Regions from separate parts of the Homo sapiens genome. Here regions 1 and 3 are each linked to region 2. The links are contacts of gene promoters, found by promoter capture Hi-C in human tissues and cell types (Jung and others, 2019). All regions are on one chromosome and are shown on one strand. The core of a region is centred on a gene start or on the middle of the fragment in contact, and the rest is flanking DNA. Distances in the headings are between cores, read along the strand shown.

Region 1 (4,365 bases), core at 1,204-3,703, 1.1 Mb after region 2:
CAGGGTGGATTTTTTGTTTGTTTTTGTTTAAAGAAGGACCGTAATGGTGTGATATTAATCATATTTCTCTTCTAATAAGTCTATAATCCTATTTCTAGTGCTTTATCCAAGATACAGAATATATGAATATTTTCTAAACAATCAGATATAAAATAGTATTGACACTGTCTTGAAGAAGTTCATCTTAAGTTTTCATCCAAGGACAGATTTTGTGTTTATTCCTCTCTGTAATTCAATTGTTAACAAGACACCATGGAAGTAAAACCAAATGAACCAGGCTTTCTGTACTCAATTGGTCTCCCTATAAAGATTCTTGTATTTTCTGGTGCATTCTAAATTAGACACTACACTCAAACTTTAGAGTTATGGAAAAATCAATTATTAATTAAAAGATATATGCAGAAAAACAGAAATCTAATTTTTTAGGTAAACTTTTTCTTCCAAAAATACAATTTTGTAATGACCTAAATAGTACTACTTGAACTACCTAATTTACTTATGTGGGTATTGAGGGGATTCAAAATCAGTATAAAATACGAGTGCTTGGTTATTGAATGGGAGAACAATTACTGTTTCTTTTTGCTGTTCAGAAGAAAATAAAAGGTGCCGTTCTGTCTGATCAAACACGTGAGTCACATAGGTAATGATACACTGAAGAAGTTTAAAAAAACACAATTTTAAAAAGATTCCTAAAAGTGCCCTCTGAAGTTACATAAATGCCTATTTAGGAACTGAAACATCAAGATTAAATAGCAGCAAACTGTTTTATCCTAGTAGCAACCCAATCTTCATTGTTTGCTGCTTTCAGCGTTGTTTTTAACAAGTTGGTGTGTATATGTGCAAATGATCCAAGTGACCTAGTGAATTAACAAGTGGTAACTCCTTGGATAAAAGTCCCCCCAAAAGACAGTATATTATATATACAAAGGGCAAGGCTGTGTTGTTCACCAGCCTCAGGTCTTTCTTTCCCTTCCCTCCTTAAAGAAGCATAACAAAATTGTCCACAATGCAATATGTTCGTGATGACTATATATTCAATTACTTCTGAAAAGCCTTTGTGTAAGCGGAAGCCTAATCATTTCATGAGTGTGGAGATTCACTAAGCAAAAATAAATTCACTCAAAGCATGCCGTGTTAAGAAAAAGGAAGCCAATTTAGCAAAACAACACAAGAAGGAAAGGCAGTAAGGAGAAAATAAAAAGAGGAGTGAAGATCAAGTGGATCGTTAGAACAGTTCCACTTCCTTTAAAAAGATGTCCTTCAAAAGTACAAATGAATCTTCTTAAAAAAGAAAACAAGTAAGAGCTTTCTGCAAATGTTGAATCATATTATAGACGGGACTCCAACTGAGAATATATTTATACAGTTTAAGTGTATGTAATGACCTCATCTGCTAAAGGTGCTTTCATTTTTAAAACTCCTTCTGTCCCCTGGTGATACTGAGCTATCCTATACATTATTCAAAGCTTAGTAGAGGGATATTAATCACATTCTCTGCAATGTTTTGAATTAACAGGAAAATAAAATAAACTCTTTATGTAAAGAGTTTTCACCCAAGGACAAATTTTGTTTTTATTCCTTTCTATAATTCAATTGTTAACAAGACATCACTGAACTAAAACCAAATGAACCAGGTATTTTGTACTCAACTGATTTCCTTATGAAACTTCTTATGTTTTTATAGTTCATTAAAAATTACAAATTGTAGTCAAACTTTAGAGTTATTGAAAAATCAATCATTAATTAAAAGATATGCACAGAAAATACTCATACCCCCTGAAGGTTTAAGTAAAACAATGATACAGCCATTATTATAGTGACTACAAATATAGCGACTACAAAATAAACAAATATGGGTGAAGCCTGAAGGCTGGACCCTATTCTGACTCCCCAAATGCATGTCTGTGGCTTTTGTGACTGAAGACAAGGTAATGGCACAGTCTTAAGCCTCAGAGGACTGGTGTAGGGCCTCCTTGAGAGTGGAATTCAGGTCCCAGAGTAGTTTTCTCATCACTAGGCAGGTATTAGGTGAATAAGAAGGAGAAAATGCCTGTCTTAATAACTGAGAAAATGTTTTCAGCCTACTCTGCTGAAGGAAATTGAGGGCAGTGAATTCTGGAGGGTTCGTAAAGAAATTCCACACCTTGAAAATAACTGAGAACAATGACAATGACATTTTTTCTTAATATCTCTATTTCCAGCAAAGAGTTTTGATTATACGAAATCAATAAATATGTATTAATAGAATATGTGTGCTGTTGTTATCCATGGACCCTAAGCTGTGTTATAATTATTCAGCTAGGCACAGTTCATTCATGTGTTCTGCCATTGACTTGACGTTATTTTTTACTGCATTATCCTGCATCTCCTCCAAACTTCATCTCTTGTTTTCCCTTTTCTCCTTCTCATTTTTGATACCTCAATTAATCATGTAATTTAATCAATTTGATCCAAAATCTGTTATCAGTAATTTATATTAGCTGAATAATTGACAGATTTTACTTTGGCAATAAATCTGTATGTATGGAGAGACTGAATAAACAAATGGACAATGACCAGTTCAACATGAAAACAGAACTCTGACCAACAACCTCTAGAACAACCACTTTGGGAAATCAAACCACAACCTCTGCAGCGTGTGGCTCAGAATAGTCAGGACTTGATCAAAAACTTCCAGCTTCCCTAATTTTTGCCCCAGCTTTCTGCTTCCAATTTAGTATGAACTAGAGAAAGCCAAAAATGCTCCCAAAACAATCTCAGAGGATGCTCCACTCCTTTCAGCCTGCCTCTAGTTTCCCCATGCCAGCAACCTCCACTATGAGCATATCTGAAGCCTTCCATTAAAAACAAACGAAAACTCTAACCTTTTCACACTTTCCTACTTGCCTGTATATCTCTCCCAAATGCAACTGATGGTGGCTGCCTTCCTTCTTATTGCAAGCTTTGCATAAATCGCCTCTGCTTGCCCTCATTTAGGTGGTCTTCATTTACTTATACAATATTATTTCTATTAGTATTTATATTGCAAACTTATTTCTTATTTACAAAATAATGCTTTGCTTCTGTTTAAAAAATAAGTCAAGTATGGACGAACAGTGAAGAGATAATCAGATTCTTGACAGATGCTTCAGCCAGGTGATACTGTAACTCTAATTTCTACAGACAATTTACCAGGACTGACTGACACAGATCTTTTCAAACTTATGATGGTATTTGACAGCTGTCGGAGCTCGGTTTACTGAAAGGGCACTTTGCTAAATAGCTGCTTTTCATCTCCTGTCTATCTATCTATCATAAATAAAAGACATTTTCTTTTCCTGTTCCTCCCTCTGCTCCAAGACTTCAAAATGTACACCAATTTCTTTTAAGAATTATTTTATCTCCTAATTAAGACAATATGTGAATTTTTACTCCCTTTATATAACATTTTAGGATGTAGCCATGAGTGAAGAAATTGAAGCTTAGAGAATGTAAGTGATTTAATCAATAGCTAGATTTGGTAAGTACCAGATGCTTGCTCTGATTTTAAAGGCCATTTTCTTTCCTCTGTCTCACTCTACTACTCATATAGCTACCCCTTCTTTTTTGTCTCTCATTTATATGTAATTATTGTTTCCTAGTGCCCACTCTTTGAAGGATACAGATTGAAGATGCTCAATATAGGTTTAATGGATGACTAAAAGAGGTATCTTTGCCTTATTTTGTTCTTAGATTTAAAACACTTTAAGGACAGAAAGCATCTTCTTACTTTATAAAACCCTGAAACAATTCAGAGTCTATGCCCTGACTTTCTAATGTAATTTTCATTCTAGCAGTTTAACACAATGAAAGTCAAGATGTGGTGTTCATCATAAATCATATATAAAAGTACACATTGCCAAAAACTACATATCCACAGTACAACTCAGTAAGACATACTAAGTCCTTACTTAATGTTATTGATAGATTCTTGGAAACTGTGACTTTAAGTAAATCAATGTGTAACAGCTCTTCAAATAACATCCTTAGTTGATGAGAAAAAATTTGGTTTCATTATATGTGTGTTGCTTAAAGTCATAATTTCCACATACTTATCAATGATTTTAAATGAGGGCTTACTATGCTTTGGTGACAGTGAAGTAATAGGGTAATTGCCTATATGCATTTTTGTTTATTCTTATTTTAGAATGAATAAGAAAAATTTAGACATTATTATGTCATTGATTATTATTGGGACTCTCTATTCAAGAGGGTTCTTGAGGCAGTACAGCCTCAACATAAACTAGAAATATGAGAGAATACTCTTCCTTGAGAAATTTAGAAAAGGGAAAACACACATCACTTATTTAACAGGTACAATATTTTAAATGTATAATACTTTAAAAT
Region 2 (3,871 bases), core at 1,230-3,729:
CTGCAAACTGTGTGTTGGGAGTTCTCTGAGAGGGGAGCATGTTTTCATGTTAAAATGGTAGCACCTGGGCTTATCAGCCACCCTACTAAAAGAAAACCTTTTGGGGCTGGCACCCAGAAATACTCATTTTCAACAAGCTTCCTCAGTGATTCTTATGTTCATGAAAATTGGAAAAACACATTAAAATGAAGTGATTACTTTCTTAAACAATCATTCTTGAATTAATCTGTTTTGTAAATTTACATTTTAGAGTGTTAATTTCCTTGATGCGATCCAAAGTTTCTAACACTCTCTTATCATTGAAAGAATGTTTTAAGTATTCCTGTACAACTCATTGTATGGGAACTAAAATTGAGCACCAACTATTTGTTAGGCAGCATGCTACCTGTGCTATCTTTATTTCAGGGACTGCAGTAATCCTTTAAAGTAGCTATCATCTCTATTTTACATCCAAGAAAATTGAGGCTCAGAAATTTGAGTAATTTGCCCAAAGTTACAAATCCACTAAAGGAATATATAAGATCTGCACACAGGTCTTTTGATTCTAAAGACCATACGTACTCTACCGTGGTGTTACAGAAATAAACTACATCCAATGTTCCAGGGAAGATTCCCATGGTAATTTAGCCTAGTGGTAAAGCACATGGGCTTTAAAGCTAGAGAGACTCAGAGACAAGTCCCAATTTTCTCTTTTTTTGGTAAAATATGGAGGTAAAAGTCTATCAGATAGGAGTCTTTTGAGGATTAAATCATAACATGCACATAACTTGTCTAACATTTTAAGTGTTTAATAAATGTTAGTTGTCATCACTGTTATTTCAGGATTGCCTTAACTTTGAGAGTTCACTTTGTATCAGAGCAACTTGGGTGGAATTTCAGAGATTATTTGTTCAGATCCCATTTCCAGACCTATCTATCTTTCAAACATACAAGAGCAGAATATGGAAATTCCCAAATCTACTGGCATTTAATTACTCCCACTGTCAAAAAGTTTTCCCTGTATTTAATTGAATTTTCTTCCTGGTAATAAAGTTTTCCCCATTTCATTTGTCTTTAGAGAAGATGGAGAACAAGCAGAGAGTCTTTCCTTTTTCTAATAATCCTACATATTAATTGGGCCAAGCTCTCTCTCTCTTTCATACCAAGCACTCTAAGTTAGCATTTAAAAAAACAAGCCAGCGCACCCCTATGTCATGGTCATATAGTGGGCCTGGTTTGAACATGATTATATACTCATTCTTGATTTCCCAGCTCGGGTTTGAATCCCATCTTTGCGATTTTCTAGTTGCATGACTTGAATAAATTCTCGGACTTACCTGTGCTTCATTTTTCTCATCTGTTAAATGTGGAACACCTACCTTATAGGGCTGTTGTGAAAAGTACGCAAATAAATATAGGGTAAAGATCTAAGAACATGTGCCTGACACATATTAAATGTTCAATAAATGTCAGTAGTTATTATATATTGATGCTTTTTAAGATTAGCTACATTCAATACTCTATTAAATTCTGTGACCCAAAACACAAGTGGCAGGTAGTCTAACAAAACTGACATAATTCTTCACGACTCCAACCTTTCACTGCAGAAACTCCTTTTGTGGGCTTCCCACACTGTAGGAGCTGCCAGGGTGGAGGGGTTAATTTCATTTAGGAAGCTCTCCTTTTCCAAGAGTACATCACTCACAGTGTCCCATACACCCCATCAAGATACCTTTTCTATTATACCTTCATCCCCTACTTTCAAGAAACCAGTTTTCAACATTCTAAAACCTAAACCGATGCTTAAAACCTTGTTCATTTCACAGAAATCAATAACAGATAACTATGAGGCCTGCAAGAGTATATTATTTTTCTGGCTGCTATTTACTGCGTGTTTAAAGTGTACTTTGCATACGCTATATAATTTAATTCTCACAACAATCCTATGTAGTCAAATACAATCACTGTCAAGAAACTAACAAAAAGTCAGGTAACTGAACTTGGAGATTATGTTTGCATTTAAAGAGCGAAGGGTTCTAACTCTGACAGGCCAGATTCTAATTACAGGCACTACTTACTACTTTAAAGAATCCAGGAAATAACTTGCCTCAACACCTCTCTTAAAAACTTGAGCCCTGAGAAGTGAGGAACTGGATTTGCTATACAAGGAAAGAAAGGAATGGTGGCTTCTCTCGGCCGGAGCGGAAGCGCCTGCCAGTCAACCTCGGGGGTCGGCGACCGTCGCGTGGAACAGAGAGGGGCGCCAGCGACGCTTTCCCGCGTCCACGACTGGGGTGGGCAACAGGGCAGGGACAGGGCCGCCCACCTCCCCAGGCGCGCAGCGAGGCCAACTCACCTGCGTGGCCGCCAGCCGCGCCCGCACCTCTCGCATTACGAACGGCTCCAGGCCGCGACCCGCAGTGCAGAAGAATCGGGCGCCAGCCTCAGGCCCGGACCCTGGCTCTCCACGCGCCTCCGACATGGCGGCTCAGGCGCGCCCTCGCGCCTTCGGGTCACGTGGCCTCGGGCGCGAGCGGCTCGCTCCTGGAGGCGGCGCGCAGGGGCGTGTGATGCCAAAGGGGAGAGGGAGAGGGAGAGGGAGAGGGGGAGGGGGAGAGGGAGGGGGAAGGAGAGGGTGAGAGAGACGGAGAGCCTGGGAGGGTCGCATCAGCCCTCTGTGGCCCCTATGGGTCTTCCTGGTTGACCATCTGTCCCCTCCTTGATTAGGCACCAGAATGGGTTAGAATCACAGGTGGAAGGGTTAGAATTGATAATTCAGTCCAGTTGCCTTATTTTGTAGATTGAGGAAATTAATGCCCAGAGAGGTCAAGAGACAGCGAGTTAGCAGCACAGCTGAGGCTGGAGCCTAGATTTCTCCCTATCTAACATAATGCCTTTTCCTCCATTCCTCCCAACTCCGTCCTCTTCCTGTCCTTCATTCCTCTCCTCTACTCTTCTCATAGAAGGAGCCCTGGTCTGTTTTCACAAAGAATCGGGCCAAACGTTGGAATCTCCAGGACGGAGAGCAGAAGTTCCTGTTCTCTAACAAACGTCTGCGTTCTGAAACAGCTCATATTTCTTGCACTACTTAGTTAACCATCCAGCCATAGATGAATCAATGTGCCATCTAGTTTTGGGCACCTGATTTGAATGGTTCTCCTAACGGTATTTGAAGGCATTTTTCTAAACTCTGAATTTTAAAATGGAAATGAAAATATTACTTGGGAAGCATAGACAGAATCCATGTTACAAGATAAACAGCGTGAAATTAGCTCTGTAGCTGTATATTGAGTCAGTTATACAGAAATGATAAATGCATGTGTGTCTCTGACAAGGGGCTGTCCTGTGCTTCAGAATGGGATGTTAAGGTGAAGAACTGATACTCCCTCACCTCCCCCGACACTCCCACACACACCCCCGCCCCCACCCAGCTCATGCTCTACTGGGCCGTACAGTAAAAATTCTTCATGGAGTCACATAACATGAGCTTTTCCAAGGTTCAGTCCTAAGACTCTTCTGATGCTGCTTTTTATTTTTTATTTTTTGCGACAGGGTCTCCCTCTGTCGCCCAGGCTGGAGCGCAGTGACGTGATCTTGGCTCACTGCAGCCTCCACCTCCTGAGCTCCAGTAATCCTCCCACCTCAGCCTGTCCAGTAGCTGGGACCACAGGCAAGCCCCACCACACCGGGCTAATTTTTGTATTTTTTGTAGAGAAGGGGTTTCACCATGTTGGCCAGGCTGGTCTCGAACTCCTGAGATCAAGCGATCCGCCTGCCTCGGCCTCCCAAAGTGCTGGGATTACAGGCACCCAGCCCTCACACACTACCGTTTTGATGAATTCTTTTCTTGCCCTCAGACACATGTTTTCCTTTTCTGGGCTACTGCCGTAGT
Region 3 (3,868 bases), core at 990-3,489, 1.9 Mb after region 2:
TGATGAAGGGAAGGGACTCTTGGGGATCTTCTCTTGGAAAAGTCATTTCACCTATCTATCTCCCATTGTTCTGAGGCAGACAAGGGGAACAGCTGATCATTCAAAAGTCATCTCTATTTGGCTATGAAAAGCAGTGATTTGAGAACAATGTATACTTAAGCTGTTCTTTCTATCCCAAACACTCCTCTGTCTCTCTCCCTTCTCTGCAGCCTGAGACCAGCATGGAGATAAGGAATAAGGTTCTAAACTAGATGATCCACTGAAGCAAAGAGTTAAATGTACTTTCAAAGGAACATAAGGACAAAACCAGATTCTCCTTGGTGTACAAAGAATCCAGGTGAATTGTCATGGGAACAGTAAATGGATGTTAGATTATTTCTAGCTACCTTTGGTTGAGTACTTGCTGTGTGCCTGGCATTTCATGTACATTGTCTATCACCTTCACACAGAACCTACAGGGATGGGAAGAAAGATTCCAAGAGAGTAACTTACCCGAGGCTGCCCAGCTAGTGAGTGATAGAGCAGGGATTTGGACTCAAGTCTGCATGACTCTGAAGCTAATCTTTTTTTAACCCTAGTGAATTTCTAGGTATTGAGTGAGCAGTACTTCAGCATTGACCCCCATATGCAAAACAAGCATTTCCAGGTGGTTAAACTTATTTAAGGTGAGGCCCTCGGGCACACTATAGAACAAAGCTAATTGGGCTCAGCAGAGATCAAAACCACGACCTTGTCCTTATTTTATCTTTCTGCCACTGGCGTGCTTAAGGCAGACAAACACTTGCCATCAAACGGCTATAAAGCGTTTTATTTCCCTTCATATTGTGTAGGTTGCTCATTTATTCAAAGAACTCAGCCTTTCAAAATAAGCCACTGGCAAGAAGAGAGAAAAGGGATGTTCCTATAAATTATCCAGTGGAAAAGCTTTTACGGCATTCGACCAGGACTTGAAATGTGGGAGGTAGGACGCTGGAAATCTACCTTGAAGATGTGCAGAACCAGCGGCAGGTCCTGGTCCCCAGGAATGGGGGGTCGGCGCGGGGAAGGGGGGAACGGTCTCTGTTTGTCTTGCTGCGTGCTCACACTGCCACCTGCTGGCATAGCCCACATCTCCGCTTCCCCAGCTCCTGTCCACCTGGAGACCCTGAGAGATTGCCCACATTTTAGCATCTCCTTTCCTCCTTGGAAGGTGTCATACTCAAGAGAAATTTTTATTTCTAGCCAAACACTCTTTTTAGCCTGACAGCAAACGGCTAGTGGGAATCCATGTGCAAGGGAACTCTGTGTGAGGAAAACAGAGAGGGAGGGGAGCGAGGAGGAGTCTATGAGCTGGTGGCTGGGAAAATCTGCTGCACCGGTGAATCCAGTTGTCATTGTCAGGACCTTCAAGGCTTTTTGGCCATGACTCTAAGAACAAAACCTCCCCAAATCCCTTTTAAATACAGTGGGGTCCATTCCTCCCTACATATTTTCTTTTCCTACAAGCACAGCGAGCGTATCTAAGGGCGGGGAGGGCTTCCAGCTTGAGCACATAGCGCCATTATTTGACGAGAGCACAGGAAGCAGCCTTCATTTTAAAAGAATTTCAGTCTTTAACTTTCATTCACTCACAGCATGAAAATAAATCACTGTGCTTGAGCATTTTAAAAATTAAAGGCTTAGATATTACATGTTACTCAAAGGCTCCTATCTTCAAATACCTATTTCCATTAGCTATTACGGTTTTTAACTTTTCTTTTTCATTATCTTGTATTCGCTTCATGAGGCATTATGTAGATGCAGCAGACTGAAATGATTTTCTCTCATTCCAAACTAAAGATGATGATGAACTCCATTCCTCTGGGGTAAGTTTGGAATAAAAAGATGGGTTACAGAATACTGGAGGTAAAAGTCAGGGATCGATCTGGTGACTTGACTCTCATATATATAAGGTTCAACAACTCAATAATAAATAAATTTAAATCATTCCCTGATTCTACTTTCCAAAGGAAGACACTGAATGATTCACTGAAAGATTCTCACTTGCCCAAATCTCCAGTTTCTTAGTAAGGGAAGGTAACATGGAATTTCTTAACCTTTGTCTAGTTTTCAGATTGTCTACATCATTCACTGCATCGACCTCCTGTCTTCTGCTTTCTCATGCAGAATTGAAACATATATACCTCATCCCCAGGAGGTCTCGTTTACTTCCGTGACTTCAAGCACACCTGAGGGCCAATGATGCCCAGGTCTGCATCCTCAGTTCTGAACACTCACCCGAGGTCTAGACCCACCTCTCTAGCTGCACACTAAATATTTTCTCCCTGAATGTCCCATAAGCACCGGAAGCTCATTGTGTCTAATCTCAAGTCTTGGCCACCCTGGCCCCAACTTCCAAACATGCTCTTCTCTCATATAATGGCCCCAGTTAATGGGAAGACTATTCACACAATTGTGTAAATCCAAACCCCAAATGTCACCTGACACCCCAATGCTTCCTGTATGATATTGATCACGAAGTTCTCTCAGGTCTACTACCTTTGTCTCCAGCTATACTGACACTTCAGCCCTTTCCAAATGGACTGCTGAAATAGTATTGCAACTATCTACTTTTCCCCATATTCAATGATCTCTTTTTCATCCTTCACATGCAAAAATGTAAAACGGATCATATCCTTGACAGCAAAATTCTGTATGCTAAATTGGACTTCATCAAAATTTAAAACTTCTGCCCTGCAAAAGACCCTGTTAAGAGAATGAAAAGATAAACCATAGACTGGGAGAAAGTATTCACAAATCACACATCTGACAGAGGGCTTGTATCTAGAATATATAAATAACTCTCAATGCTTACAATTATAAAAACAAACAATCCAACCTAAAAACGGCCAAAGGACATTCACAGGCATTGCAGAGAAGAAGATACACAGATGGCAAAGAAGCACATGAAAAGGTGTTTAACACCATTTGCCATCAGAAAAATGCAAATTAAGACTACCATGAGATATAACTACACCTATCAGAATGACTAAAATTAAGAAAAAATTGGTAACATCAAGTTCAGGAGAGGATGTAGAGAAACCGAATCACAGGTGAGAATGTAAAATGGTAGAACCACTCTGGAAAATAGTTTGGCATTTTCTTTTAAAACTAAAAATAGACTTACCATACAACCCAGCAATTGAACTCTTGAGCATACGTCCCAGAGTAATGAAAATGCATTTTCACAAAGAAATTTGCACATGGATGTCATAACTTTATTTGTAATAGCCAAAAACTACCCAAATGCCCTTCAATATGTGACTGGTTAAACTGTAGAGCATCCGTGCCATGAAATACAACTCAGCAATAAAAAGGAATGAACTCTTGATCCACACAACAACCTGGATGAGCCTCAAGGAAGTTATGCTAAGTGGAAAATGCCACTGTCAAAGAATATATACTGCATGATTCCATTTATGTAACATTTTTGAAATGACCTAATTATAGAGGTAAAGAACCATTAGTGGTTGACAGGGGTTAAGGATGGGGCAGGAAATGGGTGTAGCTATAAGAGGGTAACACAAGCGAGTCTTGTGGTGACGAAAGAGTTACATAACCTGATTATGATAGTGGTTATATGATACTACACATATAAGAAAATTGCATGGAGTCCAGGCACAGTGGCTCACGCCTGTAATCCCAGCACTTTGAGAGGTCATGTTAGGAGGATGGCTTGAGGCCAGGAGTTCAAGACCAGCCTGGGCAACATAGCAAGACCCTATCTCTACAAAAAAATTATATAAAAAAGAAAAAGAGAATTGCACGAAGCTGCACACACACATACACATGATATAAATGAGTGCATATATTTACCTGCCAGATCTAAATAAGCCCTATGGATTATATC

What was found. The method cuts DNA at HindIII sites, captures the fragments that hold promoters and counts their contacts. A contact is called where the count stands out against the background at its distance.
Region 1: a fragment that was not itself captured here is called in contact with the fragment with the promoter of THUMPD2 in region 2 in 1 of the 25 tissues and cell types used here (lymphoblastoid cells).
Region 3: a fragment that was not itself captured here is called in contact with the fragment with the promoter of THUMPD2 in region 2 in 1 of the 25 tissues and cell types used here (mesenchymal stem cells).

Annotation. Positions count from the first base shown.
Region 1 is chr2:40,871,377-40,875,741 of GRCh38, forward strand. The region is part of intron 1 of LOC105374497 (a long non-coding RNA gene); the gene reads right to left. Among named protein-coding and RNA genes, the nearest start is that of LINC01794, 130 kb to the left of the region's middle. The HindIII fragment of the contact is 3,469 bases long and covers 720-4,188 here.
Region 2 is chr2:39,776,779-39,780,649 of GRCh38, forward strand. THUMPD2 (THUMP domain 2 tRNA and snRNA guanosine methyltransferase) reads right to left here and starts at 2,480. Exons shown (of 10, transcript NM_025264.5): 1 at 2,336-2,480. The coding sequence starts at 2,461. The HindIII fragment of the contact is 6,344 bases long and covers 1-3,871 here.
Region 3 is chr2:41,697,904-41,701,771 of GRCh38, forward strand. No RefSeq gene overlaps it. Among named protein-coding and RNA genes, the nearest start is that of LINC01913, 180 kb to the right of the region's middle. The HindIII fragment of the contact is 9,972 bases long and covers 1-3,868 here.